Linked DNA regions of Homo sapiens: all the other regions are linked to region 4. Evidence: promoter capture Hi-C in 16 types of primary human blood cells and fetal thymus (Javierre and others, 2016). All regions are on one chromosome and are shown on one strand. The core of a region is centred on a gene start or on the middle of the fragment in contact, and the rest is flanking DNA. Distances in the headings are between cores, read along the strand shown. Region 1 overlaps GALK2 (galactokinase 2). Region 2 overlaps COPS2 (COP9 signalosome subunit 2). Region 3 overlaps SHC4 (SHC adaptor protein 4). Region 4 holds the start of USP8 (ubiquitin specific peptidase 8). Region 5 holds the start of EID1 (EP300 interacting inhibitor of differentiation 1). Region 6 overlaps CEP152 (centrosomal protein 152).

Region 1 (4,120 bases), core at 517-3,016, 1.2 Mb before region 4:
TTTTTCATCTCCTTACAGTACTAACCGATGCTTCTGTTCTATTTTGCTAGTTTGTGTTTCAGAGAGTGGGGAAGATATGACTGTTTTGGGGTGGTGTTCACAGGGGGCAGTAGTGGTTTTTATACAGCTGGCTGTTCATAAATAGGTGCATCTGACAAACATCTGTCTGGTTTTAAAATCTTTGTTTAAACATACTTTTGAGGATATGTTTTAATACTATTATTTACATTTATACTTGGGATGTATAGGGGTATACTGTAATAGGATTTAGAGTCAGCCCAGGTTTGAATCTGGGCTCTTCTCAGCTGTGGTAATTTAACCTCTTAAGTCTCAGATTTATCCATAAAATGATGTCATTGCTATCCTGACAAAGAGTTGTTAAAAGAATTACATAAAGCTTGATGGTAGCCATTTAATAAATGGTAGCTAGTATTGTTATTGCTACTTCAGATGGGATTAAAAAAAGATATAATGAAATGTATTAGTATAAGTATTTTCCAAGAAACATTGAATAATTACTTTGAAAATCTCTAATGTTACATACAAGAACAAGAAAATAAAATGTTTTCACTCTCATAATTGAAAAAGTATCAAGGACCAAAAGAAAATTGATATTTGCTGTTTTTAGAGCCACTTTTATATTGCAATAATTATTTTAGATGTAGTGACTTGCATAGAATCATAGTAGGACAATAAGAAGTAAATTTTGCCTTTGTGAGCTAAAAGTAAACAAACAAACTGACCCATGTTTTAGAGAGCTTGTGTTCCTTACTGCCTGGCAGTCCTATCTGAAACTTTGTAATGAGCAGCTAGGACTTAGTGGCACATCCATTACAGAAATACATCAAATTTATTTCTAATGTGTAGTCCTATACTGTAACAGTGGTGGTTTTTGTTCTTAAAGTTAATGAATTCATTTCTTTCTTTCTTTTGTGTTTTCCTTTCTCTCAGACACATGGTAATAACTTACAGGAAAAGTTATTGGCAGGTTTTAAATCTTCAAATCATCTGGCTTATCATATGCATTAGTGGGAATTACAGTATTTGGAAGCATTTGCCTGGCAAATGCAATTTTAATCTTCCTTGTAACAACATGCCTTTTTGCAGCATATGGGTAAAGTGGCCTAAATAATGCATGTTGCTTTGTGTTATTTTTGAGCATTTCAGGTTTTAAAGCCTTCCTGTTTGGTTTGACAATTTATGTGCAAAAGCAAACTTATACAATGAACTTTTGGCAGAAAGGTAATTTAAATGCTAGCCTGTTCAGAAACTTTCAAATTCAAATACTAGAAAGTTTCAGAGAATAATTCACTTATATTACATTGAACATGTTATCCTTTTGGCATAGAGCTATTACAGAATGTGGCATATACCCATTTGCATTTTGAATTTGTTATACATTTTCATTTAAACATTGCATAATACGTTGTTTTTTGTTTTTGTTTTTTTGTTTTTGTTTTTGTTTTTGTTTTTTGAGACGGAGTCTTGCTCTGTCGCCCAGGCTGGAGTGTAGTGGCGTGATCTCGGCTCACTGCAACCTCTGCCCCCGGGGTTCAAGCGATTCTCCTGCCTCACCCTCCTTAGTAGCTGGGATTACAGGTGCCTGCCACCGCGCCTGGCTAATTTTTGTATTTTTAGTAGAGACGGGGTTTCACTATATTGGCCAGGCTGGTCTTGAACTCCTGACTTCGTGACCCACCCGCCTCGGCCTCCCAAAGTGCTGGGATTGCAGGTGTGAGCCACTGCGCCCGGCTGATAAGTTCTTAAGTGTGATTCCCACTCAAGACACCTGTGTTTGATCAGTTTATATTAAATATATTGTATTCTTCAATTTTTTTTTTTAAACAAGCTGTCTGATATTCTGTATGAAAGGGCATTGGCAACAGTAGAGTTTCAGTTTATAGTTTGTTTGTATATCTGGAAGGAAATTTTTAGATGACTTGAAATCAGGAAGAGAAGTACACCCAGCTAAATTTCTTCTTATTGTGGTGCGAGAATTTTGCTAGCTAGGACAGACAGACAAAAAATTAAGGAAAAAGGTCTTTTATTTGCAGAATTTTGTTGTTATTTTAGTTATTCTAGCTAGCTGATTGAAATTCTCCCTTGTATAATAGGTATGATGAAATGCATAATTAGGTAATAGTATTTCATATGTTAATCTTCAGTCATTTGAGTAATTTGCAAAGACTATGGTACTTTTTCTTGAGAAGGAGGTAGACTTGAATTTATTTGTAAACTTAAACCACAAAGGTTATGATATGATATCATCCAAAGTGTCCTAGTGTTAGAAAGTAATGTAAGTATACTAGAGCTTTCCATATTTAAATCAGAATCTGATTATTTCTTTGGGCTTTCCTATTTGTAGAAATAGAGTTTCCTCAACTTGTTTAGGGTCTGTATTCTCATTTGTGGCTGAATTCTAATTTGACTATCTTTAAAGCTACCATATGGCTAAACTGTATCTATAAACTGTAGTAAGCATCTGGATTTTCTCATGTAGCTGGCATATTAAATCACAATGACGGTTTGCTGGCTCAGGTTTCTAACTGCAGTGGAAAAGTTTTCAAACAGGATTCAGAGACCTGGGCCCTACTCTCGTCTCCCTATGTGTCATCTTGGGAAAGTTTCTTCATCTCTTGGTGCCTAGGTTTTTTCATAAGTAAAACAGAACTGAGAATGTTTGGAACTCCTTTTTTTCAGAGAACCTTCTAAAGTAAGGCACTCCTTAGAAACAAGTCACTGCTTGGGGGCTGGACTTTTATAATAACAGAATGCTGGAGTTGTGCTGCATGGAGATTTAAATTACCTCACAGATAATTGTATATTTCTTGTCCTGCTACTTGACAAATTGGATTATAATTGTTTTATATTTTTTCCATATTTGTTCAAATCAATTAATACTCAAGAAAAAGAACATTCAAGGCAATTTTATATTTTTTCCATATTCAAATCAATTAATATTCAAGAAAAAGAACATTCAAGGCAAGAAAATTAAAGGCATTTAAGGGAATTACTCTGTGGCTAAGAGTCATTAAATAAAATGTCACATATAGTCTCAACTAAATTGAATTGCATAAGTAGTTTCTATAACTATTATAAGTCTATTGATAGACTTTTGTTCTCTGGGGAATGAAAGAAGCTTTCACTACTCCTTGAATTCAATACTGAATTACTGTTGCTGTTTTTCCTTATATTCTTAGGAACACTTTGGTCTTAGTAACCTGACTGGAATGAACTGCCTGGTAGATGGAAATATCCCACCAAGTTCTGGCCTCTCCAGCTCCAGTGCTTTGGTCTGTTGTGCTGGCTTGGTGACGCTCACAGTGCTGGGAAGGAATCTATCCAAGGTAACTACCTTTGATAGGAAACCTCATAGAACCCTCTCCTAATAATCATTAGCATCCAAATCTCAAATCAGAATGCCTTCCTTGATTGAAAAACTGTCTTCTCTAAAAGGACTGCACATGTGGGCAAGCATTGTAACTTAACAAGTGATAAATCACTATAAAGTAGCTTATACCCTCCAAACAGTGAGTGAATAGATCTGTGAATAACTGTATAAAAATACATTGTATTAAATATGGGATTTGAATGTATGGATATCATTTTAGATCACCTCATTCACAAGTTAAATTTAGGGCAAGAAATTCTTCCTCTCATGGTTGAGCCTGCTTATTTTCACCCAAAACCTTAAATTAAAAATTTGACAAGTAGTGGGTTACAAGGGTAAAGACTAGGTAATAAAGGAACTGAATATGCCAGCAGATTAGTCACAGAAATAAACTTTAAAATATTGCATTACAAGACGAAATGCTTATTTAAAGGAAATATAAATTGTACAAGAGGTCAGAAAGCCTCAAGTTTATAAGTTCACATAAATCTCTGACTCTGCAGTTTAGAGCAGGTGTGCTCAGCTTTAATTAATGCTTTAGCATTCTGGTTCAAATAAAATGTTATCATAGGTTCTTTTTACCCCATGTACATATACTACCAGGTTTACGGATGGTTTGGACAGATCAAGAGAAAGGCAGCCACATGCTTAGTCTCTTTTAAGCATGTTTAAACTTTCAGTTTGAAAATTTTATGTATAGGAGGAAGGCAGAAATGAAGGAGAAAGCAA
Region 2 (4,630 bases), core at 532-3,031, 1.3 Mb before region 4:
CAGGATTGTGCTTGGGATGACTTGAGGAACAGCAAGAAGGCCAGTGATGGAGCAAATAAAAACAGCAGCAAAGGATGAGCTTACATAGGGATCTGTAGGTCATGGTAAGAATTTTGGATTTTACTAAGGGAGATGGGGACCACTAGAAGATATGGAGCAAAAGAATGGCATAATCTGACTTACATTTTAAAAGGATCACTCTGCTACTTGTGGAAAACTGTAGCAGGGTAAGGATGAAAGTAAGGAGACCAGTTAAGAGGCTATCTCAATAATCCAGGTAAGAAATCATGGTGCCTTGGACCAGAGTAGCAGAGGTAGAAATGGTAAGCACAGTCATACTGGATGTAAAGCCATGTGGATTTGCCAATGGATTATTTGTGGGGTAATAGACAATGAGAAGAGTTAAGCATAATGCTAACGTTTTGGCCCTAGTCAATGGAAGAGAAACTCTTTATAATAAACAGGAGAATTTTAAAACTCCAAAGTAAACACTAATCCTTTGTGGAAAAGTCAATCTATTAATAATGCAGCCCTGGCAGGGTGCGGTGGCTCACGCCTGTAATCCTAGCACTTTGGGAGGCCAAGGCAGGCAGATCACGAGGTCAGGAGATCGAGACCATCCTGGCTAACATGGTGAAAGCCCGTCTCTTCTAAAAACACAAAAAATTAGCTGGGCATGGTGGCATGTGCCTGTAGTTCCAGCTACTCAGGAGGCTGAGGCAGGAGAATCACTTGAACCCAGGAGGCAGAGGTTGCAGTGAACCAAGATTGCACCATTGCACTCCAGCCTGGGTGACAGAGCGGGGGAAAAAAAAAAAAGGCAAATACTGTAAATGCATCTAAAAGAGTAAGTTTTCTTAAATAGAAAACTTCTGTATCCTATGAAGAATTTGTTTTTTTTACTTAGTATTACTATAGTCCCAACTGCAGAGCAGACTAAATATAAAAACACATCCAAAGAAGTACTTTAGAAAAGAAGATATAATAGTACTTTGTCGTGATGAGGTTTTTACCTACAAAATTTATTAGTTTAATTCCCCTCAAAACAAATCTTACCAACTTGAAGTTAATCTTAATCATTTGTTTCAGTGCTTTAAATCCCCATTCTCCTTTTTCACCTTCAAGTTCCAAAACCTAAAAAGAGGAAGAAATTTTTAGTTTATCTTAATATTAACACATTATTTTCTAATGATGCCCAATGTGTAAGTATTGAATTAATTTTATACTATATGCATAAAAAACATTTCCCCAAGGATACCACCATTTCTCAATGTCATTTTTCAGTCTTTAAAAAAAACAAGTTGTAAGATGCCTACATAAGGATAAGCAAGCTTAAAGTTCCTTCATCAGCAAAATAAAGAGCCACTTCTTGATTATTATATAGTTTCTGAAATATTTTTTCCCCTGAATAACCAACCTATGGTAAAAATAATCCGTAAGTGTATCAGTAAGTCAAGAAATCAAGCTATTCATAATAATGAAACCACAACTGTATGATTTACCCCTAAAAGAAACAAGATTGCAGTGATAATACCTACTGACCATCATGTTGGTGGTTCTTCTGCCAGAACCATCCTAGTTTTTCAGGACAATGGCCCTGCTCCATAGACAGCTTGATTGGAAAAAACATCAGGATAACCGTTTTGAAACACTTGCTTGTGCTGCCTAATGCTAACTGATAGGATAATTAAGTATTCAAAACACATTTCTGAGATAAAATCACCTGGGACTTATTTGTTCTAGCATATCATTAAAAAAATTAACACATAGAATCAAATGGAAAAGAATATAAACCTTTTGGAAACTGCTTAATGCCGCTTTTGGGTCATCTTCTTTTAATGCTTTGGAATTATAGTACTGATTTTCCAAATCCACATTTGGCTCGGAGTTACTATCTTCAGAGTATTCCTGTGTTGGAAAGAAAGAAATATTAAAAGAAAAAAAGAAAAGAAACCCACACGTAGCAACGTAAAAAGTGAATGCTGTTAAGACAGAAAAACCACATATTTTTACAAAACAAAACAACCTTGAATACATACGTAAAATGCCACTGATATTCAACTGTTATATAAAACCAGGGGTTGAAGAGAGGAGGAAGGAGGAGTCAAAATCAAGTGTATAGCAGAATATAATCATTACTTTCTTTCAGATGAAAGCTAAAATTTCTATAGAATCAACATAAAAGAAGAATGCAACCTAATATTGGTTAATGACCCCAATTCTGTAGTTGCTAAGCTTTCGTTAGTCATGAAATCTGAGGGAAACCTAACGTAGATGTGTTCTAATTATTAATCTTTGGTTCTGTAATCTAATTTTTCTATTCCCCAAGTCTAAATTTCATTATTGTAACACGGTTTAAAACCAGCTAGGATGGTAATCTACACATGGCAAAGTCATCTAGCACTAAATATAATTATGTTAATAAGAATACTTTCCTTATGTGCACTATACAACAGCTGTTTATACTAATGTTAACTTAATCAGCTTTATAACAAATCAAAATAAATAAAACAAAATGGATTTATATAATTTTATGAGACTTTCTATTACATGAGTTCAATTCTTAGTGGAAAAAAAACAAGGCAGAAGGGAAAACTGGAATAAAACAACTATTTTGTGGAGCAGTATAAACAAGAGTGTTACACAGTTCCAGGACATTCAACCTAATAATGAGGATTACAAAATACACATGGATTGGTATAATGGAAATTATTATCTTATGAGTCATAAGATATAGATTATTTCCTTCTCAGCTTTAAGTCATTACAAAGGGCAAGTTTATATCAAATTAAGAATAGTACCTGGAAACAAACACAAAAAGACAAGAATAGTTTTATAGTTATTTCTAAATCCAAATACAGGTAACAAATTTCTTTATGAGATATTTATGAAAAATTCTGTTACAGTCTCATAAAAGCATAGGAGTGAAGAAAGGTATGCTGTGTATAATAAGTTACTTGAAAGCTCAAAAATACATTAACACAAGATGAATTTTTCAATAATCAAGAGTGGCTTTGTAATGTGCGCCCTCTGGAGGATAATTCCTTCCTCGTGTGAAGACCTGAGTCTGTCAGTCTTACAGATTTAAGACCTGGAATTCCATTCTGTTTAACATATGAAAATCACTTGGAACACTTCTTTTAGGGACAAGATGAAACTAGGTAGTAAATAAGTTTCATAATTATTCATTTACTTCTTAACCCTTGTAATCTAGGCTTGACTACAAAGAAACTGATCAAGCTAAAAAAAAAGAGAAATTAGTAAAGAATGAATAAGCCAACCATACACAGAATGATGCTGTGACAGTGATGGCTTCAAACCTGGGTTTTGAAAGATAAATGGAAGTTTGCCCACTAGACAAAACAGGAGAGGATAAAGAGAATAGTACACGTAGTAACAGCATAAACAATGAAAGGTAACTATTTGTTGGAACATAAAAATCCTTATTGACTCTACCTTCAAAATAAATCTCAAATCTATCCACTCCCGAACCCCCTGCCTGCTACCACCCTACCCTACCCAACTACTTTCATCTCTCCACAAACTTTAGCAGCCTTCTCATTCTCCTTTTTAAGTTCTAATATCCTCATGGTTAAGCAGGTGAAATAATTTTCACAAAATGTAAATTATCTTATTCCTCTCCTCAAAAATGGTTCCTATTCCTCTTAAAATCGAGAGCAAAATCAGCAAAACTTGACTCCTGTGTCCAACCTTATCTCCTATCTAGTTCTCCCTCATTCACTTTGCTGCAGCCATCCTGGCCTTAACTCAACAAGTGCCAAATTCTCCCACTTTTATGTGCTATTTCTCTCTCTTTCCACCTCTACCTCTACCTCTCTTCATCTAGTTAACTACTGCTTATCATTTCAGATCTCAGCCTAAGGGTATTCTTTAGGGAAGACTTGGAGTAAAGAATCACAGCTATAAAACCTACTCTATGCCTTCGGAAATCAGCTCTTTTCTAATTGTTTTATTAAGTTGGAACAAATATAAACAGATTTACCATATATGATTTATCATACAATAACTAAAATAAAAACTTCACTTAACAGTGTTGAATAAGATAGAGGAATAGCTTGCTGAACCAGAAAATTACTTTTTTTTGCAACCCAAACCTTCAGAATGCAGCCTTGAACCTGGAAGTAAAATGAAAAGTATTTCTGATTTACATTGATCACAAAGTAAAAATTCAGAGTCCATTTATTTTTGGTTTCTTGGCTCAAAACAAATTAGAAAAAACAATTAGGTCAGGTTTCGAGAAGAGGAAAGTAGAAGCTGAAAGGTATACATGACAACAGTAGGACTAGTATTTTGGAGCTTCCCAGCAAATGAGAAACAGTATTTTAGAAAGGGAAGAGATTAACTTCAATTATCTGGAAATTACTGAACCAATTATAACATTGTTAAAAACAGGATCCTTGACATTTCCTGTCATATGTCACACAGTGTCTTGTCATTCAGTCACGGAATACTTATAATAAGAGTAGTTACCTGTAACTTCTGGGACCTGATAGATTTCAGATAGAGATTTCTAAACTTTAGATGTTACAACTCCAAAAAAAAAAAAAAAAAAAAAAATCACAATGACTGAGAAAAGATTTGATTCAGCCCTCTTCGTTTTGTGACTACA
Region 3 (4,055 bases), core at 715-3,214, 1.6 Mb before region 4:
ATCAAGTATGGCTTAAATGATAAAATATCTCCTAACACTAATATGCTAGCAACCTAACCAAATAAATACTTTTTTTTTAAAGAAAAGGTAATCCTTTTGTTTTTAATCTCGTAAATTCCCAGTCCAATTAAAAATGAAGTCAAGGCCAGGTGCAGTGGCTCACGCCTGTAATCCCAGTACTTTGGGAGGCTGAGGCAGGTGGATCACTTGAGGTCAGGAGTTCATGGCCAACATGGTGAAACCCCGTATCTATTAAAAATACAAAAAAATTGGCTGGGCATGGTGGCAGGTGCCTGTAATCCCAGTTACTTGGGAGGCTGAGACAGGAAAATCACTTGAACCTGGGAGGCAGAGGTTGCAGTGGGCCAAGATGGCGTCATTGCACTCCAGTCTGGGCGACGAGTGAAACTCCATCTCAAAAATAAAAATAATAATAATAAATAAAAATAAAAATGAAGTCAAAATAGAAAGTCATATCAAAATGGAAACAACAATTTTTGCAATTTTATTTTTTCTTAGGATTGAGGAGATGTTGAGAGATGAAGATGAGGAAGATAATGAGAGAAGCAGGATACTTAAGCCTAAATAAATAAATAAGAAAAGCTAAATTGTACTTCCAGTGAGGGCGATGAGAGAATAGGATGTTTAAAAGAACTCCGTGAAAAGATTCAGATCTGAGTTCAAGTTCCAATTATGCCACTACTTATGTGACCTTGAACAAGTCACTTTATGGCAAGGTCCTTGTCTGCCAAGACAATGTCCTGAGTCATCTTTGAAGTCTTTTTGTTTTACAGAAACCCTATTCTTCCTCTGTCATGGAAGCTCAAAGTCTCTGAGGAACAGGGCGGCATGTGGGTACACAGAAATGAATGAATCAATCAGACACATCAACCAGCCTCTAACGCTTCTGGCGTACCTCTAGAATGTCTTATTTATCTCAACTTTTCTGATTCTGATGCTTTGAGGTTTGGGTCCTGTTCATAGGCTGATGCTATCAACATAATTTTCTGCTTTTCTTTGGATTAGCCTATTACTACCATATTACTTTATTTATTATAGAGACAGGTGTCTCACTACGTTGCTCAGACTGGACTTGAACTCCTGGGCTCAAGTGATCCTCCTGCTTCAGCCTCCCAAGTAGCTGGGACTACAGGCATGCCCCAACACACCCAGCTTGAGAAGACTGGACAAAAATAAAAGAACAAACAGTGGTGTCTGTCTGTCTCCAGGCAAGATGCAACAGCAGACAAACAGACTGACCTCATGCAGATGTTCTGCCCAGTCTCACCACCTTCAGGGAGCACATGTACTTTCACAGTTCCATTGTTGCCTCTCATAGACATGCTATGTTGCTCTATGGAAATGGTCTTTTTTAGGTTGGTCATGGGACAGGATAGAGGTGGGCCTTGAATCACATATAAATATGCCCATTTCCCAGGATTAAAACCAATTCCAAAAGCTTGGCCAAGAATTGCCCAATTTTCAGCTAAAGGGAAAGAAGAAAGACAAGTAACTATATATAAAAAGAGCCAAGTCACAAAAAAGAGGGTGCCTTTTCAGGGATATGGTAACTTTGTTACCAAGGCCTGAGCTTTGCTTCCCATGTCTGGAATCAGATGAAAGTCTGGATTTTTTTCATCCCACCTGTAGCAGGATGGGCTCACACTTCCAGCCCTGGGTATCAAGTACTAAACTAAGATTCAAAAGAACCTGAGATACATATTCATCTGTCTTTTTTATTTGGTTATTGAATTAGGTAGTCATAAACAAGAGGATTACAACTATTACTAAAGGATAACAGACACTTCTTTACTACTTTTATATTTGTTCTTAATAAACAGTTTTTTTGTTTTGTTTCTGTCTTTTCCTTTTATACTTAGAAAACCAGAAATTCAAAAGTTCAGCTTTTCAGGTCAACCACCAGATGGTGCTATGGGATCAAAGCAGGGAGTCCTCCATACTTTAGGAAGAAACAACCTCAAAGAGGCAAGCCAGTATTCAGTTCATAGCTAATTAATACCACCAGGACAGTCGTAGGCATACTTTATAACTATAAACATAAATAAAAATAAGTGGATTAATTTAAGTTGGTTTTACTGGTTTTGGGGTTTTTTTTTTTTTAACTTTCTTCAGAGACCCAGAAGCATGGCCTTCCTATATCCAGGTAGTCCAAGCAGTCCAGTCCTATTCACAGACTAGATTCAGGGAAAATATTAAAACATTCCTGGACTGCCACACATTTGGAGTAAGACAATGTGGATTTCCTCATTTACAGCAATTACAGAAGCAGGGTGTATTAATCACTAACTAAACTCAAAACATTCTTACTGGAACTTAACCTTTTCTATAAAAAAGGCCTTTGATAAAATGAAGAGTTCACTAAAGGGTCCTAGCCAAGATGGAAAAAGTGGGAACTGCCCTGATTTAAATGCACTAATGCTAAAAGCGAATCAAGCAAAAGGAAGAGTGGGAAGCTTCGGGATTGTCAGCATGAAGCCCAGTCTCCTCTGCTCATCTCCACTTCCTGTCAACCATACTGTCCTCCTCATCCCTGCAATCTGGCTCCTGCCTTTCTAGGTGTACAAAAATTGAGCTTTCCAGAGTGACCAGTGGCCTGTTAATTGCTGGGCGAAATAGCATCTTCCCACCCTCATGCCCCTTAACTCCTTTTCAGTGTGTGACCATCTGAGATGTCTCCTTCAGAAGAACCTTGCTCTTCCCCTCTGTTAGGTAATACTCATTTCTTGACTTCCTCCTGTCCCCTGACTACTCCTTAGGCAAGTCACTGTCTCCTGTGGCTTCCCCCACTCCCTGACATCCTTAGCCCTCTTCTTTCTAGGTTCTGCTAAGAAGTTGCAGTTTTTTTCTGCACCTGCAGGCCTGGCCTGCCTCCCTCCCCTCCCTGCCAGCCCCACCCCCAGCCCCAGACCTACTCTCTGGGCTTCTCTTGTCTGCCATTTTCTCCTGGATGAAACAAACTTGCTAGTTAATTTTATAACATCAGCTTTCTGATTTCATTATTTTAAAACATTTATTCAAAGGTTTTGGATATTTTTTCTTTTTATAAATGTAATAAATATTCACTGTAAGAGTTTTAGAAAACAAAAAGGCACCAAGAAGAAATAAAAATTACAGAAAATTTCACTATCCAGTGGTTATCTCAATAACCACTAGGAACATTTTGCCATATGTCTTTCCTATCTTCTTATAATGCGTATCTACCCAGAAAAGTCACCTGGGATTATACTATACACAATCTTCATAATGTTTTTTGCATTAACAGCATTGTGAATATTTTTCCCATATAATTACTTATTTTTCTACTATTAGCTTTAATTGCTGCATCATAGTACATTCTATGAGTTTATTTAATTTGCTACTTATGAATACTAAATTTTGTCTTATGATATAAATAATATACAAAAATGATCTATATTGCTTAATCTTTGTACGTATCCTAATTATTTCCTCAGAAATAAAACTACTGGTTCAAAGGCATTTACATTTTTAAGATGTTTGATGCAAATGATCAAATTGCTCTTTAAAATGTTTGAATCTAAACTCTTTATCAGCAGTGTTCAAGAATAACTACTACTCGAAACCACATTTTATCTTTTTTCAATGTTTGAAATTTGGAGATGAAATATGATGTCTAATTATAATTTGTGTGTCTGATTGCTAGTGAGGCTAAACTTTTTTATTTTTCAAATGTTTCTTGGTGCCTTGCCATGTTCTTTTGTGTGCTCAGGACGTAGAATCTGTCCATCCACTTAATGGCTGGGTAATCTTACGAAAACCGCCTTATTTTTCTCACCTCCAGTGTTTTCTTCTATTTAAAAAAAGGAATGATATGTTTACATACTCCCTAGGGCTGCTGTGAGGATGAAATGAGATAATGCAGATGGAGTACTGAAAATGCCTGGCACATAGTAAGCATGCAATAAATGGTAGCCATTTTTCTTTGCCTATTTTTTTTATTAGATTGTTTGTTTATTCTATTTATGAGAATTTCTGTTTCTTTAGTGGCAACATCACTCCACATCACACAGAATAGT
Region 4 (4,299 bases), core at 547-3,046:
TTTACTTGGGAGTGGGAATCAGGAAACCTGGGTTCTGTTTTTGACTTAGTTTGGATAAAGAAGGGTAGTTAAGCTGTCCTTATGTCTCTTACCAAATGGAGAAAATACTGCTGTAGTTCACAGCAATTTGGGGAGTTTTAGATTCTATGGAAAATGGAAATCCTATTTGTAACTTAGATTTTTTCTTTGGAGAAGGAGTCTCGCTCTGTTGCCCAGGCTGGAGTGCAGTGGCACGATCTCGGCTCACTGCAACCTCCACCTTCCAGGTTCAAGCGATTCACTGACTCAGCCTCCTCAGTAGCTGGGATTACAGGCACGCGCCACCATGCCCAGCTAATGTTTGTATTTTTAGTAGAGACCAGGTTTTGCCATTTTGGCCAGGCTGGTCTCAAACTCCTGACCTCAAGTGATCTGCCCACCTTGGCCTCCCAAAGTGCTGGGATTACAGGCGTGAGCTACCGCTCCCGGTCTAATTTTTAAATTTTTGTTTTGTAGAGATGAGGGTCTCCCTTTGTTGCTCAAGCTGGTCTCTGTCTCTTGGGATCAAGGGATCCTCCTGCCTCAGCCTCCCAAAGTGCTGGGATTACAGGCCTGGGCCACTGCAACCTGGCCTTCATCACAAATTCATTGAACACACTTTCTTTATTTTATCCTTTTTTATTTTTAAAAATTTTTATTTCAGTAGTTTTGGAGGAACAGGTTGCATGGAAAAGTTCTTTAGTGGTCATTTCTGAGATTTTGGTGCACCCATCACCCGAGCAGTGTACACTGTACCATGTGGCACACACTTTCACTTAAAGCATTTACTAGACCTCGCTAGCCAGATTTCCCATCCCTGAGACACCTGGAATGTTCCTGAGGACTTAGTGACTACTGCCTAAAGCTCCACCCAAGTCAATTTTATGTTTACAGGCAACCGGAGCATCCAATCACCTTTCTCTAAGAGAGTACAAAGATCAGCTCGCGAGAAAGTTCAGACGTCTCATTTCGTTTCTATTACACGGGGCCTTCGCCCAACCAGACGGAGTCTTGCTCTGCTGCCCAGGCTGGAGTGCAGTAGCGCGATCTCGGCTCATTGCAACCTTCGCTCCCCGGGTTTAAGCAATTCTCCTGCCTCAGCCACTGGAGTAGCTAGGATTACAGGCGCACGCCACCACGCCAAGCTAATTTTTTGTATTCTTAATAGAGACGGGGGTTTCACCATGTTGGCCAGGCTGGTCTCGAACTCCTGACCTCATCATTTGCCCGCCTCGGCCTCCCAAAGCGCTGGGATTACAGGCGTGAGCCACCGTGCCCAGCCTCGCCGGGGCCTTTTAAGTGACGTTAAAAATTGTACATAAAATATGTTTTAGGATAATACTTGTTTTTCTTTGACCAAAGGCTTGGCTTCAGAGAATGTTTAGCCAGAAATAGAGGGGCGTTAAATCCCCTTTTTTCTAATTTCCAATCTGAGGAGGAAAATAACGTAGTAAAGGGACGCAAGAGCAACCTTGCTTCTTCCACAACAAGGCCCAGGCGCCGCCTTGCAACCCGGAAATGCAGGGTGCAGTGCGGGGGGTAAGGGACCGGCCAACTATGTTGACCCGACTCAGAGAAACCCCGCCCTTGCCGCCACCGCCCACCCATAACGTCCTCCTCGACCCTCCCTCGACCATCCCTCGCCCCGCGGCCCTCACCGAAAAGGGGAGGGCGGTGGAAGAGAGAGGAGTCAAGGGAGCGCACGCGAAGCCCCGCCCCTGCCGTGACGTCTGGAGACGCGACGCGTCGCCTCGCAATGCAAATCGGGAAAAGGGGGTGAGCTGGGCTGGCTTCCGTCCTGGTAGCCAAGGCTAATTCTCCCTCGAGTTCTTGGGAGATGGGCATTTGGCGAGAAGGCTGGCGTTAGTGAAGCGCGCCCGGCGTCACGGTGAGTGCGGGTCTTGGGCCCTAGCACCTGTTCTCTGGGAAGTCGTCCGCTGTGAACGATGAACGCCTTTCCTTCCACCAGCTGCTGGTTACCCCGGAGACAAGCTCTGTCCGCGGAGAGGAGTGGGACAACTCCTAAAGGTAGAATCAGCTTGTGGAGAGGAAAGGCCCAACCTTGAGTCTTTTACGCCATCTACCTAGGATTGCCAAGCGAGTTTCGTGTGTTTTTTTGGTTTTAAAAGGTGGCTTTGACCAATCTTCCGTTCTCTTGGACACTTATACCCGACTTTGACCTCTTTCCTCTTGCTTCCGGTTTTTTTTTTTTTCTGCAATCTGCCTACAATCCCAGGCCTTACTGTAGCTCCTAAAACTGTTTCCCAGTTTCTCTTCTTCCCCAGTCACACTTGATTTTAGTGAAGTTTGAGTTTAAAGACCCTATAAGCTTGTCAGAGTTAAAACTATGACTTCCTCAAATAGAAGATTTTTTTTTTTTCCCCTAAAAAGTGCCTTCCATCCTAGAGTTGTGGGACAAGTTAATTTCACCGCCACTCCACCTTGGAAATTATCAGAATCCTTACTAGCAGTGATGTGCATTATAAAGCTGCAGACCACCCTCCTGGGTTTATTTCTTGCCTCCAGTTCATTCTGTGACCTTGAACAAGTCACTTAATCACTAACAAAAAATTTACCTGACACGGAGGTGTTGCAGAGCCTAAGGAATTTAGTATTTGTTAAGAGACCTGAGGGTTTCAGATGAAAGGGATTTATATCTAAAGGATGTTACCTTTTCTGAATCTGCAAAGCATCGTTAGTTTTGTAAATATCTTGCTGCAGCCATTAAAAATGCCAAGTGGTATTTGTTAAGGAAGTATTCCTGTTTTAGGCTTGCTCTGCTGCGGCTTTGCTATGTAAGCAGATTTTTGCATTTCAGCCGATTCTGTTTAAGATTCGTTGGTGAATGTCATTCATGATGGATTTGGGTAGTTTCTCCTTACAGCATATCCCTGGACTATTAAGCATATCTGGAAGGTGATATCGGTTGTGTTATGTCTTTATCATGTTGATATGGCTGCTTTGAAATATGTATTCCTTTTCTTGTGACACATTGGATGCATCTTTAATATTAGTGAAGACCCTGTAGTAGTTTAAAAAAAAAATACACCTCTCATTAATGAAATTTTGCACATAGACATCTGTTTTTTTAAGAAAACAATGTATAAGAAAAACTAACAAAAATGTTTTAAAGGTGCCTTTTTTAGCATTTCGTTTTTTAATATATTTACTTGGACTTTAATCTTTATGGGCATTTGTTTATTAATGTGGACGTGGCTGGGCGCAGTGGCTCACATCTGTAATCCTAGCACTTTGGGAGGCGGAGGTGGGCGGATCACTGAGGTCAGGAGTTCGAGATCAGCCTGGCCAACATGGCGAAACCCGGTCTCTACTAAAAATACAAAATTAGCTGGGCGTGGTGGTGCACGCCTGTAGTCCCAGCTACTCTGGAGGCTGAGGCAGGAGAATCGCTTGAACCTGGAAAGCGAAGGTTGCAGTGAGCCGAGATTGCGTCATTGCACTCCAGCCTGGGTGACAAGAGCAAAACTCCGTCTCAAAAAATAAAAAATAAAAAGCGTGGACATAATGGAAAATAATCAAAATGACTTTTGGGTAAGACAGTTGGAAAATAAAGCCAGTACATTAAATTTTTTTCATAAGTCTAGCACTATATTACGAACTTTTCTCCATGAAAATGCACTCATATTTATGGAAGTGAAAGGAAAAAAATGTCTTCAGGTATGTGTTGCTAATAAAATTAGATATAATTAAGGAAACATTTAAAAAATACCTTGTTGTTGTCCCAGTTACCTATTGCTGCATAACAAATCACTCCAAAACATAGTGACTTAAAACTGTAATTTAGTATCTCTCCTGTTTCTCTGGCCTGCCTGGACTTAGCTAAGTGGTTTTCACCTAGAGTTTAATGCGTTTGTATTCAGATAAGCAGCTGAGTTTGGAGTCAACCGAGAGCTCAGCTGGTCTGGACATCCAAAATGGCTAATTCACGTGAAGGCGTTTGATGTTGGCTAGGAGTTCAGCTGGAAATGTCAACTGGAATGCCCACACATAGCCTCTTCACGTGACTTGAACAGTATGGCGGCTAGGTTCCGAGAATACATGTTTGAGGAGTCAGGAAGTAGAAGCTGCCAGTCTCCCAAAAAGCCTGAGCCCAGAAATTCGCACAACATTACTTCCAACATACTCTGTTGGTTAGAGCAAAGACCAGCGTACAACCCTCACCTTTGAAAGGAAAAATGTCAAAGAATTTGTGGCCGTGCTTTGCCTACTATAATTTTGATGACAAAGTTGTATTGGACTCTTGTTTGCATTTATATAGCA
Region 5 (4,266 bases), core at 1,757-4,256, 1.5 Mb before region 4:
ATGCAGAACTATTCAAGTCTTTGAATGATTACATATCAGGAAAGTGGAATCAGTCATTTTGCATCGGTATATGCATGGGTGGAGCAGCTGCCATGACTGGATGGCATTTTGGTTTCACTACTCAGGTCAAAGAGGTCGCTTCTGAATGTGAGTCTATGCACCATGTCATCCATAGAGAAATGATGGCTAGTCAGAAAATGTCACCTGAACTTAACAACATTTTGCAGTATGTGATTAAAATTATCAACCATATTATACATGCCCTTAACTCACATCTGTTTGTGCAGCTCTGTGAGGAGATGGATGCAGAGCACACACGTCTTCTCTTACACACAGAAGTGAGATGGCTTTCTAAAGGTAGATCACTGGCCAGAGTTTTTGAGTTAAGAGAGCTGCTTCAGAGATTTCTTTGTAGAAAAACAGTCACCATTGGCGGCACATTTCAGTGACACAGAATGGGTCACAAAAAAACTTGCTTACTTGTGTGACATATTCAACCTGCTCAGTGAACTCTGTCACTTCAGGGACGAACAACAACTGTGTTCAACTTGGCAGATAAGGTGGCTGCATTCAAAGCCAAACTGGAATCATGCGGGTGACAAATGAACACTGGGATTTCTGACATTTCAAACATTAGCAGAGATTTTGAAAGAGACTGAGCCAGGGTCTTCTTTCTCCCAGCTGGTGCATGATCACCTATCTCAGCTTTCAAAATATTTTGAGCATTACTTCCTGTATTAGTCATGGTTCTCTAGAAGCACAGAACTAATGGAATATATACATATATATATACACACACACACACACGTATATACACATACACACATACATATACACATATATATGTATATATATGTAAAGGGGAGTTCACTAAGTATTAACTCACATGATCACAAGGTCCTACAATAGGCTGTCTGCAGGCTAAGGAGAGAGGAGAGCCAGTCCGAGTTCTGAAACTGAAGAACTTGGGAATCCAATGTTCGAGGGCAGGAAGCATCCAACACAGGAGAAAGATTTAGGCTGGGAGGCTAGGCCAGTCTCTCTTTTCACATTTTTCTGCCTGCTTATATTCTAGCCAAGCTGGCAGCTGATTAGATTGTGCCCAACCAGATTAAGGGTGGGTCTGCCTTTCGCAGCCCACTGACTCAAATGTTAATCTCCTTTGGCAACACCCTCACAGACACACCAATGATCAATACTTGTATCCTTCAATCCAATCAAGTTGACACTCAGTATTAACCATCACACTTCTCATCCACAAAAGACGGAATGGATCTGTGACCCATTTGTGAATAAGCCAGGTGAATCCACTTTGTCCACGCTAGAAGAGGATCAACTGCTTGATATTGCAAATGACGGTGGCCTTAAAAGTATGTTTGAGACAACTTCAAATCTCCATACGTTCTCGATTAAAGTCAAGGCGGAACATCCTGAGATTGCCACAAAAGTACTGAAAAGCCTCCTTCCATTTTCAACATCCTATCTTTGTGAGGCAGGATTTTCCACAGTAACAGCAACCAAAATGAGATTACAGAATAGACCGGACATAAGGAACACACCTCGGGTGTCACTGTGTCTCATCACCCCCAGATGGGACCATCTAGTTGCAGGAAAACAAGCTCAGGGCTCCCATTGATTCTACATTATGGTGAGTTGTATAATTCTACATAACTATAATGTAATAATAATAGAAATAAAGTGCAGAATAAATGAAATGTGCTTGAATCCTGTAAGTATACACAGTCATATAATTCATATAAGTATATACAACTTAAAACCTGAGGCTTTTAAGTTGAAGGTAAAAACAGGTAAAACATGTTTTTAAAAAACACACAAAATAGTATTTTGCTGTCAATACATAAAGATACATGTAAATGCAAATAAAAAGAATTCAAAGAATACACACCGCATTGCTAATAGTGGAAAGATACCTCCCAGGCGAAAAGAAATGGGACCAAGTATTTCTTCACTATAACTAAAAAAAAAAAAAGTACAATATATCTGTTGTTTGTGAATTTAACTTTTTAAATGAAAACACTAAAAGGACAAAATGGATTAGTTCTTAATATGCTGATCTGTGGTTATGGATGTTGTCTGGTTTGGAGACGTGGATTTACAAGTCATCAGTACATCGGTAAATTGCCCAGGGGAAGAGGAAGGGGGGGAAGGAGCATTAAATGTTACGAAGGCCATGTAAGGTTATTTTCCGGTTTGCAGCATTACAAGCAGCAGTAGGGTTAAGTAACACAGAAACTGTTACGCTCTTGCATGCAGGGTCCCTAGATACGAAGTTCGAATCGATGGAAACGTAGCTCAAAAGGCGACGCCAACACCCCGGAGAAAACACTGAGCTACTCCAACCACAGTGGCGCGCCAAGTAGGAGGCGGTACCTGAGGACCACGCCTGCGCGCGGGGTTACGCAAGCGCGCAGCCTTTGCGCACGCGCACGAACGCACGGCCGCGCAGCATCTGTCTTGCTGGAAGCTTTTTCCTAGAGGTTGAGCGGTTTGCACAATGTCGGAAATGGCTGAGTTGTCCGAGCTGTATGAAGAGAGCAGTGACCTGCAGATGGATGTGATGCCTGGCGAGGGTGACCTTCCGCAGATGGAGGTAGGCAGCGGGAGCCGGGAGCTATCCCTGCGTCCCTCCCGCAGCGGGGCCCAACAGCTCGAGGAGGAAGGCCCAATGGAGGAGGAGGAGGCCCAGCCAATGGCGGCGCCAGAGGGGAAACGGAGCCTTGCTAACGGGCCCAACGCTGGGGAGCAGCCAGGCCAGGTGGCGGGCGCAGACTTCGAGAGCGAGGACGAGGGCGAGGAATTTGATGACTGGGAGGACGACTACGACTATCCCGAAGAGGAGCAGCTCAGTGGTGCCGGCTACAGAGTATCAGCCGCTCTTGAAGAAGCCGACAAGATGTTTCTGAGAACAAGAGAACCAGCCCTGGATGGCGGGTTTCAGATGCATTATGAGAAGACCCCGTTTGATCAGTTAGCTTTTATCGAAGAGCTTTTTTCACTGATGGTTGTCAATCGTCTGACCGAAGAACTCGGCTGTGATGAGATTATTGATAGAGAGTAGTTAGATGCTGTTAAAAGAGGAGGAAACTACTTGAGGAGGGACCCAACTTTCCGCTATCTTTTGGGTTCATTCCAAATAGTTTTGTGCCATTGAAAAACTTGACCTTCAAAAAAATTTGTTTTTCAGAATAGAACACAATAGGACAGTGACTGCACAGTTGTGAAAAAGGAAGAGAATCATTAAAGAAAAAGAAAAAAGATTTTAAGACCGTTGAAATCAATTATCAAGAACGTCCTAAAACACCTATGGCTTTGACTTTGTTATTGATCCAGATTATTTTCCTTGCATTGGGGAAAATATCTTTCATATTTGTTTGCTGTAAAGATGGTTTTGCAAGAATAAGTCATGACCAAGACAAACTGCCAATACAAAAGCCCACTGATACTAATTATATAATGAGAAAAAAATGTATCCAACTAGGACACATATCTTTTGAGTTATTTGGACTGAAAGCTTAAGAAAACTTGGAAAATTCTATTTTGTGATCTAGTCAAGCCACAGTTATCAAAGGCTACATTTTCAGTGTAAGATAAATGGATGAGTAAACTCAAATATGTATCACGTGTGCTTTGTATCTTAAGATGTGTTTCCAAGAGCATCTGAAATTTTGTTTGTACATGTATCTTGATCATTTATAAAGCCACTGTGATCTATAAATCAAGAAAATCCATTGTCATAACCATTTTTAAAAGTCAAAAATTAAGACATCCTTAATTAAAAAGTTTCAAATCTAGACACTAAATGTGTGTGAATGTACAAAGAAAACAAACCATTGCTTATGCTGTTATATACTAGAGAAATTTTGTTTTGCTTGCTGTTTTAACTTGACAGATGAAGGACTTTAGTTGAACTTCATATTGTAAGAACTGTTAATAAAAGTTGTCAAGTAAAAAGCGCTATATCTAAAAAGACTTTATGAACAGTTATTCTATCAACTTTTAAAGGTTTTAAACCTGCCCAGAAATTACCTTGGTATCTGAAGTTTCCCTCTGTCTCCTCCTCTAATTAAGCTTGTTATTTGTCATGCACCAGCATTGGAGATAATAAAATTTCTTGTTCTGTGTATTTTGTTTGGCTAATAGTATTGCATACATACTTTCTCTGTATACTACTTTCTATTGTATGTGTTAACCAGTATTAAGGGAAAATGATCCAGCTTCAGCTATCTAATTCACAAATTAATTTCT
Region 6 (4,202 bases), core at 743-3,242, 1.6 Mb before region 4:
TGGAGAGAATAGAAATGGAAAAAGCAAAATCATAATTGTAAAGCTGCTCATTAGGATGGCATGAAGGTTGGAATGGTGTATTCATTGGGATATGGGCCCATGTGGACAAAATCCCAACTGGCACCAAAACAACAAAATTAAACACAGCTTGGAAAAACATGCTGTATTAGCAACTAGCCTTTCATCCCAGGCAGTGAAAATCAGGACTATCCAACCATGTACCAAGACAGGCTCTCACAAACCCTTAGCAGGGTAGACTATGAGTCAGATGTGGTATGCCTGGTAAGCCTTATAGCACATCATCAGGGATAAAGGCATTCCTCCCACATCAGCAACTTGAACACAAAGTGATTCACTAAGTAGAGAAAGCAATATGCATTAGCCCACTGCTAACAGTTATAACCTAGCCACAATCCCAAAGCCACAGTCCCAAAGCTACCAACCAGGTAGACAGGATAAAACAGCTTTTTTTCTTTAATCTCTTAAGGCTGTGAACCATTTGGCTATTGCTGGGTCAGGAAGACTGAGACAGTTAAAAAAAACCTTCTAGATATGCATTCAAGCTTGGGTTTGACCACCCAATTTATTACTTTAACTTGTAGTGACAAAGTATACATACAGCTGAAGATTTGTGAACAGTTCCGAAGTTTGTTACTAAAATTTGAACCTCTCTAGCCTCTCATCTCACTTTTTCCCTTGCAGCAATTATTTTTTAAAGTAAAAATATTTTTATTAACATGAAGTTTTTTACAAATTTAACCATAATCATCATGTTAGAGTCAATTCAGCTATATATCCTTCCACTCTGCTAGAAATACTCATTCTTAGATACTTGATCTTTCAAGAACAACTTTTCCCCTGAAATTCCCTATCCCAGCATACAATCTATCAAAGAGGTGATCCCAAATAGCTGTTTTCTATATTATCTAGAATTAATTGCCTCCTTAACTAGTATCCCCTCTAAAATTTTAACCACACAATACACTGGCAGACCTATCTCTCTAATATATTTCTCAATGAAAAATCACCTGTCAAAATATTTTTTCTTCTTTACAGTAGTGATTATTTAAACTGACCTTCTCAAGAATCCCAGTGGCTAAACCCCAGCCAACTATCCAAGCCCAGTCATGAATACCTCATGCTGCAGGTTCAAAGTAACAGAAAATCCTCATTCCCATCCTTGCCACAATTGTTGTGAGGGGCCCTGCCAAAATCCGGAAACCCTCACCAGGGTCATAAACTCAAATGCCCTCAGGGCCCTGGCAGAGAATTTACCAGAGTGAAGCAGGCAGGTCTGAGTGCATAAGCCCATGTCTGTGTGAGAAGTGGGGACTGTGGCCAGCTGGGGAAGGAGAGCCACTGCTCAGTTCCAGCCCGCCTGCTGCCATGTGCAAATACAGGCCAGGTGTGGCCAGGGCTTTGGATGTTTTTTAGATAAGCCAGAGACTCTGCAGTGCTGCATAAAATTTTCCCATCTTCAAATACAGATTCAATTTTTTAAAAGCACTCTGCAACCAACAATACCTGTCTGAACCAAATCCAGCAAGTTGCCAGTTTTCTATCACTGCCTTAATTCTACCACCAGCCACATGAGCAATGGTCAACTGACCCTATTCCTTGCTTCCTGTTAATACTCATGGTCCACAATAACTATTAAAAAAGACTTTTTTACATGTTAGAAAATGGGTCATATAAAAAATAGCGTCAGGACAAAAGAAGCCTTTTATCACAGACAATCAAGAAATTTGACTTACACTAAAAACAACCAAAACAACTAAATTGACTTCCACCAATAACACTATTACTGCTGCTATTACTATTGCCACCATTTACTGAACATTTGCTATGTGCCAAGAATTCTGCTAAACACTTTACATATAAATAATATGGTCTCTCCCTTTTATTCCTTTCCTTCTATAATCTATTCACCATGCAGCCTTCTGAAAGATCTTCAAAAATATGATATCAATTTTCCCTGCTTAAAATCCTCCACTGGCTTCCCATTGTTCTTAGAATAAAATACAAACACCTTATCATGGCTTTCCATGATCTGACACCCACATCCACCACCCAACACTGGCTCATATATACCCAATACCATGGCCTTCTGGCCGCTCCACATGATCTGTGGCATACACGGGGTCTCTTCCCAACTTCCCAGCTTACACTCATTGGTGTTTTGGCGTAGACTGCTCTTCCTCAGGCTTCTGCATGGCTGGTTCCTTCTCATGAGTCAAGTCTCAGCTCATATATTGCCTCCTCCCACAGACCCTCCCTCACCACCCCATCTACAGCAATCCCCTATCAATTGCTTTCATAGCACTCCAATTTGTTTCCCTGTCATTTATCAATGATAAATTATCACTCACTCAAATTACTTTACTCACTTGTTTACTTGTTTATTGTCTGCCTCCACTAGGATGTAAACTACCCAAAGCAAAGAGCCTTGTCAGACTTGTTCATGGCAATGTTTCAAGCACCTAGAAACTAACCTTCCACTTCCAAAGCCAACCATTACCTCCTAAATGAAAAGAAAAATTTAACCATTTATCTGATGGTATTATTCACAGTTGTGTTTTATTCCTGTCTCAAAAACAGAAGCATTCCACTTATTCACCTTTTCAGTCTAAATAGCAAGCAGATTTTAGGGTTGTTTTTTTTTTAAAAAATCCAAATCCCTTCAAAATGACACAAGATGATACAATTTTGATCAAGAAATAAAACTTGTTAAAGATTGGGTTTAGTGTCTCTTTTTTTTTTTTTTTTTAACAACTTACCTCTTTCTCTCTTTCATAGTCCTCTTCGTCATACTCTTCATCTTCATTTTGCACTGGTAGTGCCACACTGCCAAAGTCTAATGACATGGTCCTCCTGTGGGAAGGGAAAGATGTTTGGTTTCTGGACACCACATAAAATCTCCCCAGGACAAACTACATAAGAGATGCCATACATACACAAAGTGAAAAGACAGAAACAGACTGGGAGAAAATATGTATAACTCAGTTATGGCCAATAAAAATAATGGTGATTCACCGAAAATAGCTATATGACAGCAATTCATGGAAAAGAAAACATGCAAATAGGTAATAAAGCTATGAATAGACCTTTCTAGTGGTCTGAAGAGTATAAAACAGTAAGATTTTTGCCGACATGAAAAATAAGATGACAATAATAATAAACTAGAAATGTGCCAAATGTAAAAATCTTAAGCTCAAACAAAACTTCAAATGTGATATATTAAACATGGCACAGGCAGTACCCTATTGCTTCATTTTTTTTTAATATCAGAAATCCAAATATCATGCTTTACAAGAAGAAGGCCCCTAAATCATGAGTGAATGACTACTACCCAGAAACCATTTACAATTCAGTCAATGCCATAGAGTGCACAACAAAATATAAGTCTTAAATGTCCTCCTCTTAAGCTTGATAAAATCAGGTTCTGGCAATATACTCGGGAAAAACAGAAGTGAAGGCTGTGAAGCTCCACCACTGTGGACTTCCAATTCCAAAAGCAACAGCAAGAGTTCCCTGGGGAGCAGTGACTGCTGCGGCAGAAGCAGCAGCAGGAAATGGGTTTTCAACTACTTACATTCAAAAAAGCTGCTGCTGATTTAACTTGTACTTAGGGATCCTGACACTATACATAAACTCCTCAGAACTTCAAAGCTCTGAACAATCACAACAAAAAAGTAGGCAGGTGTCATCAATTACCTGGCCTAACACTGCCCTCCATTCAGTCCACTGTTGTTCATGCCAATGAAACGCACTTGGATGTGAGCCTGAGCCACAACTCATTCACTACACCTTTCAAGCTCTAAAATGTCATTAAATTGGAAGTAAAATCAGAAGCATGGAGACCCAGCAATCCAAATGCATTTTACCATAGAGAACTTAGCTCCCTCGTCTTAACAGATACGAACTATATCACAAACTTTTGTGGAAGCCAATAGCTCTAGAGCAGACAATATCCCATTTCATCAGATCTAAGATGTCTTTGATTCTATGATGCAGTTCCATTTGTAGCAGTAGGAACGAGATGTAGCCAATCAAATTATGACATAACATTAATTTTAGGACGCAGTCTATGTTGTAGATATTAAAGTGTGAAAAGAAAATATGCAAGCTAGAATAGATGAATATGGTATTAAAGATTAACATACATATGAACTTCAGTGGTAAAAATCCCCCTATGACAAGTT

The links. The method cuts DNA at HindIII sites, captures the fragments that hold promoters and counts their contacts. A CHiCAGO score of 5 or more calls a contact.
Region 1: a fragment that was not itself captured here is called in contact with the fragment with the promoter of USP8 in region 4 in 2 of 17 cell types (fetal thymus and naive CD8 T cells); the score reaches 6.6 in fetal thymus.
Region 2: a fragment that was not itself captured here is called in contact with the fragment with the promoter of USP8 in region 4 in 2 of 17 cell types (naive CD8 T cells and total CD8 T cells); the score reaches 6.3 in naive CD8 T cells.
Region 3: a fragment that was not itself captured here is called in contact with the fragment with the promoter of USP8 in region 4 in 1 of 17 cell types (fetal thymus); the score reaches 6.4 in fetal thymus.
Region 5: a fragment that was not itself captured here is called in contact with the fragment with the promoter of USP8 in region 4 in 7 of 17 cell types (fetal thymus, total CD8 T cells, activated CD4 T cells and 4 more); the score reaches 12.1 in fetal thymus.
Region 6: a fragment that was not itself captured here is called in contact with the fragment with the promoter of USP8 in region 4 in 1 of 17 cell types (naive CD8 T cells); the score reaches 5.8 in naive CD8 T cells.

The regions. Positions count from the first base shown.
Region 1 is chr15:49,236,021-49,240,140 of GRCh38, forward strand. It overlaps GALK2 (galactokinase 2), which reads left to right. Exons shown (of 10, transcript NM_002044.4): 5 at 3,201-3,347. Among named protein-coding and RNA genes, the nearest start is that of GALK2, 68 kb to the left of the region's middle. The HindIII fragment of the contact is 2,742 bases long and covers 396-3,137 here.
Region 2 is chr15:49,143,171-49,147,800 of GRCh38, forward strand. COPS2 (COP9 signalosome subunit 2) reads right to left here. Exons shown (of 13, transcript NM_004236.4): 2 at 1,795-1,908; 3 at 1,057-1,134. Among named protein-coding and RNA genes, the nearest start is that of COPS2, 10 kb to the right of the region's middle. The HindIII fragment of the contact is 904 bases long and covers 1,330-2,233 here.
Region 3 is chr15:48,860,089-48,864,143 of GRCh38, forward strand. The region is part of intron 6 of SHC4 (SHC adaptor protein 4); the gene reads right to left. Among named protein-coding and RNA genes, the nearest start is that of EID1, 16 kb to the right of the region's middle. The HindIII fragment of the contact is 1,015 bases long and covers 1,458-2,472 here.
Region 4 is chr15:50,422,609-50,426,907 of GRCh38, forward strand. USP8 (ubiquitin specific peptidase 8) reads left to right here and starts at 1,797. Exons shown (of 20, transcript NM_005154.5): 1 at 1,797-1,906. RefSeq lists enhancers at 620-1,616, 1,655-2,044 and a silencer at 1,495-1,544. The HindIII fragment of the contact is 13,730 bases long and covers 1-2,345 here.
Region 5 is chr15:48,875,662-48,879,927 of GRCh38, forward strand. The region is part of intron 4 of SHC4 (SHC adaptor protein 4); the gene reads right to left. EID1 (EP300 interacting inhibitor of differentiation 1) reads left to right here and starts at 2,473. Exons shown (of 1, transcript NM_014335.3): 1 at 2,473-4,266. The coding sequence starts at 2,516. The coding sequence ends at 3,079. RefSeq lists enhancers at 2,048-2,157, 2,428-2,727. The HindIII fragment of the contact is 1,047 bases long and covers 2,484-3,530 here.
Region 6 is chr15:48,802,786-48,806,987 of GRCh38, forward strand. It overlaps CEP152 (centrosomal protein 152), which reads right to left. Exons shown (of 27, transcript NM_001194998.2): 2 at 2,778-2,871. The coding sequence starts at 2,864. Among named protein-coding and RNA genes, the nearest start is that of CEP152, 6.2 kb to the right of the region's middle. The HindIII fragment of the contact is 2,862 bases long and covers 562-3,423 here.